Regions from separate parts of the Homo sapiens genome. Here region 1 is linked to region 2. The links are contacts of gene promoters, found by promoter capture Hi-C in human tissues and cell types (Jung and others, 2019). All regions are on one chromosome and are shown on one strand. Each heading gives the region's core, a stretch centred on a gene start or on the middle of the fragment in contact. The rest is flanking DNA. Distances are from core to core; before and after follow the strand shown. Region 1 overlaps GRIN2B (glutamate ionotropic receptor NMDA type subunit 2B). Region 2 holds the start of GRIN2B (glutamate ionotropic receptor NMDA type subunit 2B).

Region 1 (2,700 bases), core at 104-2,603, 120 kb before region 2:
TCACTTCCTTTGAGACACAGTGTACTACACTGTCTGTTGACTACACTGTCTGTTGACTAGCCCCAAAGCCATTCCCACTCCTTTCCCCCCTTGTCACCTCCACCAGAGAGACTTGCAACGTCCACAGAGTTGCCCATGTGACATTGTTTGGGCTCATGAAATCAAGGATGTGGGGAAGACTTCTTCTAATCCAATACCAACCCACTTCTTCTTCCTTCGTTAAGTATGAGCATGATGGATGACTAACGCTGGAGCAGCCACCTTCCAACCATGACAAAATGCCAGGCGAACCCCAGATGTCAGTACTGACATCACTGAGCCAGTGAACCACCCCCAGCAGCCTCTGTCTCTAGACTCTTTGTTCTGAGACACCCACAGACTCATTTGTTTAAGCTACGGTGAGCAAATCACTACCTAAAGGTATTGGACAACATAGTTAACCTCTCTGATCTATAGTTTCCTTGTCTCTAAAATAAAGATAAAATATGTGCCTTCTAAATTCAATGAAAACATTAAATGAGATAAAATATATAAGATGACTAGCTCATATAAAGTGACTAACTCAGAGTTTGACAAAAAATAAATGATCAGTGTCAGTCTTTCTCATCATAACCTCAAAATAACTTACAATAATTAGATCTTCTTTGTCCGTGTAAAATAGAATTATAGCAATAAACCTTTATTGTACTCAGAAAGGTAGAATAAAAATAACCACCTTTAATGTTACTCTCCTGCATGCTAGACCTTTAAACTACAGAATCAAAATACAATTTTGAATAAAATGTAGATCTAACAGTAAGACAAAAAGAATCACAGAAGTCTCAGAAAGGGGACTAAAAATATACTCTTTGTATAGAACTCATAATTCAGGGAGTTTTTTTCAGCAATATCAATGTGATGTAAAAATTGGCTGGCAATATTTAGTAAATTTATGTTTTCTTGTATCTGTAACATTTTACTACTTCCCACCTAGTACCACGAATATTTTCTTCATGTAATAATTCACTTTTTTTTAACATATTAACACTTCCAAATCTATGAGTGACTCTGATTCAAACACTATTTTATTCCGTTATGTTTTTAGAAAATGATCTTGACTTGTCTTTAATGCTTATATCCTATGTGTATCAGTTTGTTGAAATCACTTTATGTCTCTGCTTTGAAAATCCTGATAAGTTCTGATCAAGTCAATATCAGTAATTGCATCACCAAAGAGGTGGAACCTACTGAGCTGTTGTTTATCCACCATGTCTAAATGGAAGCAGGTTAACATCCCCAAATCTTCTATTTCTGTTAATAGGAAAAATTAGAATCCATTTTCCTCAAGTGATTTAGGACAAGTCTGGTTTTTGAGAATGCAAGATGGCATATACTAAGCACCAACTGTCTACCATGCACTGGGTACATTGCGTCATAAGGCTTGCTACCCTTTATAAGCTGGGTGTTATTTTTGTTTTCACTTTACAGAAGGAGATTTTGAGGCTCAGAGAGTCTGAAGAGTCCAACTAAGGTCACATGGCTGAGAATGAATAGAGCTCAAGCCCATTGACTCCAAAGTCTGCATTCTCTCCTTGTGCTGGTACCTTCTTTTAGACACCATCACGTCCCTGGAAAATGTATGACAAGTGATGGCTGGTGTGTTACTTTCCAGCACCAAGTGCCTGTATTTCTATGAATGTCGAAGCAATTTCTGGGCTTCAATTGTTACAAGCATTAACACTGCTCCTAAAGAAAATCCTAGCTCCAATTTTTAAAGACAGGATGTGCTGGCCAACAAGAAACACATTTCACAGAAGCAGGTGGAAAGAGCCAGCCAGACAGAGCTACATCACTACAAAGTTTCCAGTGCCTTAGAGAGCACTGCCTACCCATCTTTCCCCAAAATATAGTTCAAGTAGGGAAAATTGGAGAGAAGAAACTGAACTCCAGGTAATTTTGTCCTGGCTTTTTTTTCTTACTCCCTCATCGTATGCACTGGGAAAAAGTCTTAAAGTCAAGCATGTCTGAATTCAGATTTCAGTCCCACTATTGTTGTAGATGTGTGACTTTGGCCAACATACATAAACGCTCTCTGATTTAGTTTCCCCATCAAGAAAGAAGAAATACTACTACTTCCCTCATGGGATTGCATAAGAATTAAAATGCTCATTAACATCATGCCTGGTTCAAAATTGACATATTATGTTAGTTTTTTTCCTCTCACTTTTCCTACCTCTATGTCTTAATACCCTTCATCCAAGAAATGCCATAACATTACAGTTTTCTCCCAAAGTATTCTGTCCCGAGGAATATTATATCACAGACAACTAAAAGCAAGGTAACAATCTAACAGACACCAGAAATTAGTGAAGAAGCGTAGGGTAAGGCATGAGTAACATGTAGCCATCTTGGTTTCAAGATTATGTTGGATATGCAAATCCATATGAGCCAAGGGAAGGCAATAGTCTACTCCCAGTGTCACACACCACTGCCAGCCCATCTACTCTCTCCAAACCCACTGTCATTAAGCAAGTGGGGGTAGAGGATAGGGGAAGAGGGCCAGAGGATGAAGCCAAAGAAGAGTAGGGCCATCTTCCTATCCCCAATTAGATTCCAAAATGTGGCTCTCAGTACAGAAAATGAAAAGTGCTATTGAAAGCATCCATTCCCAAAGAAGCAATTTATTATTTATTTTATTTTATTTTTGAGACAGAGTCTCGC
Region 2 (2,700 bases), core at 126-2,625:
TTTTTAACGCTTCTTCTGGCAATTACGGTTTTTGGTTTTTGGAGCGTTAGTGGAGGAGGCTCTGTGTGGAGAAGCTGGGGGCCGGCTCCGTCCCTCGGTGGAGCATGGTCATTCCCAAAGCGTCCCCTTCCTAAGGGGGAAAAAGAGGCGGTCAGGGCTTGATTCGCGTGTCCCCCGGAGGGTGAGAAAAATGCATTCCGAAAAAGATATCAATTCGTTTTAAGGAAAGGGGGGAGGAAACCCCGCATTTCCCACAGAGTGCACACGAGAGGAATTGAAAACAGCTGGTACCGGTCTATAAATAATTCAGAAAAGGTCTGGCTATACCATTCCTGGGACAGGCACGGATGAGAGGTGGGAAAGCCAACCTGAATGGAAGAGGAGAGAGGGAGGGAGCGAGCGAAGGAGGGAAGTGGGAAGGAAGGAGGAAGGGGGGGAGAAGCGGCACCATACAGCAACACACACTCACACACACGCAGAAACACAATTCCCACTTAACTCGCCAGCGAGTGCGGCCCCCAGCCCCATCTGCATTGCTGCTGACTTGTCTCGCTCGCTCTCCCCATCGCCTCCAGCAGCAGCGCCGCCTCCCACCCCGGGCTTGTGCTGAATGGGTTCTGATTGTGCACGGGGTGCACACTGGGCATTTCTTGGAAGGGGCACACTGACGCGCGCACACACGCCCCCGACGCGCACGCGCCCCGCGCGCACTCACACTCACCCCCGCGCACACTCACCCCCGCGCACACTCACGCTGCCGCCGCGCTGAGGTGCAGCGCACGGGGCTTCACCTGCAACGTGTCGATTGGACGGATGGGCTCGGCGCGTGGGTCCGGCCCGGGGCGCCGCTGCCCTGCCCCTCTGCTAGGTGAAGGGATGAAACCCCCCAAAAGACCAGAGACAGCCCTACCCAGTCACAGCACCCCCTCCCCCACAAAAAAAAAAAACCTTTAAAAAAGCCACGTCCAAATTAGCAAGTGCCGGGTTCTGCTGGATTTCAGAGCTTTACCTCATGCCAGATTCGTTCACGATTTCACGGCTTCGACCCTTTATCTGCCTGACACCCCCAAACCCCTACATTCAAAGGAGAGACTCCAAAGCCCATCTTTACGTACCGGCTCCGAGCGCCTCCGCGGTTGCAGTCTGCGGAGAGGGGTGGCCGGTGGCTGGGAATGGAGGGTTTTCCTTTCCTGCAAAGCAGGATTAATGATCCGTCTCGGGGGTTTTGAAGTTCATGACTCTTCTTTGCAAGGCAAAAGGATATGCATTCGGACGCCAGCACTACTGGATGGTGGTGATCAAGAATCACCCTTGACGAGCACTCTCGATAGAGCGAAGCCCCGAGATTTCCTAGAGGTGAAGAAGCCGGAGGAAGTGGTTTTTGAAAGGGGGTGGGGGGAACCTTCCTTTCTCAAAAAGAGGTGGGGGGTGGAGAGGCAGGAGCCCAGATTCCAGTTGGTGAGGATCGGAGCCGGGGGAAGGGAAGCGGGCGGGGGCAGGCTGTGCAAGTCAACCGCGCGGCAGCCGGAGAGGGAGAGCAGGAGGGGAGGAGGGGAGCGTCAGAAAAATGGGTATTAATCACCGGGGACGGGGGGAGGCGCGGGGAACGCAGGTTGCCTGGTCTGGATTTGGGTCTCACACTCAAAAACGTGCCGCGCACACACACACAGACACACACACACCCCCTACCTCGCACACCCTGACTCCGGGGGGAGGAGAAACCCACGAAGCTGGGGAAGATACTGCTTCTGCTCCCAGGGGCGGGTGTGAGCGCGCGTGTCCTCTTTCTCCACACCCCCCACCCCACCCCACCCCCAAGCCCCTGCACCCCCTCACTCCTCTTGCTAAGACTCTGGCGGAGGCAGCTTCCCACGTCATGTGCTGGGGAAGTGGGGTGGTAAGGTGGATGGAAGGGGGACGGAAGGGGGAAGAAGCTTAGCCCGAGTCCGTGGCGCCTCCTCCCGGCCGCAGCGGGGAACAGCACCGACGGAGAGCGGCTGAGGGGCGAGGGGAGCTAGACAGTGCCCCCCGTGGGCGGCCCGCGGGCTGCGGAAAGCATCTCCAAGGCGGAGCTGTAGTTCGAAATTGAAGACCCTTGCTGTATTTTCCATAAATCAGCCTGTGCTTCCTACGAGCATTCTGTGTGTCGGACGCAGTCTGGGACCGGGTTCTTTCTTGCCTTCAAGGAGCTTAAGATCTATCTGAGCACACGAGGCTGACGCCTAACACAATAGAAAACAAAGCAAAGCAGGTGTCATTCGTGGCTAAATTGTATAGTATGGACCATACGCGTGCTTTTCTGGCTGCTAGTGAAGGCGGGAGGAGTTTGACATTTTTTATTAAAGTGGATCCTGTTATTTAAATGCCTTGAGAAGAGAAGATGGTGAGGCCCGTGAATAATCCCTAAAGGAAACTGGATTTCCTGGCATTTACAAACCCACCCTCTTTGAAAAGGCAAACATCCATTCATTTCTCTTCCTATTGAACTCTTTTATATTTTAATAGCCCTTATCACCACCTGTAGTATTGTTTACTTTTAACATTAATATTATTGTATATGCATCATTTTCATTCTCATCCATTGTCTTTTCAAATATCTAGAATACTACAGTGGTGGAACATTTTCATATTGGTTATATCATGGGCTTCTCACCAGCATTCCTGAGAAGCGGCCATACAAACGCACAGGAGAGAAGGCTG

What was found. Contacts are between HindIII fragments. The study calls those that stand out against the background at their distance.
Region 1: a contact is called between a fragment that was not itself captured here and the fragment with the promoter of GRIN2B in region 2, in 3 of the 25 tissues and cell types used here (liver, mesendoderm cells and pancreas).

What each region holds. Positions count from the first base shown.
Region 1 is chr12:13,857,662-13,860,361 of GRCh38, forward strand. The region is part of intron 3 of GRIN2B (glutamate ionotropic receptor NMDA type subunit 2B); the gene reads right to left. Among named protein-coding and RNA genes, the nearest start is that of GRIN2B, 120 kb to the right of the region's middle. The HindIII fragment of the contact is 9,169 bases long and covers 1-2,700 here.
Region 2 is chr12:13,980,227-13,982,926 of GRCh38, forward strand. It overlaps GRIN2B (glutamate ionotropic receptor NMDA type subunit 2B), which reads right to left and starts at 1,376. Exons shown (of 14, transcript NM_000834.5): 1 at 1,116-1,376; 2 at 1-130. The HindIII fragment of the contact is 12,156 bases long and covers 1-2,700 here.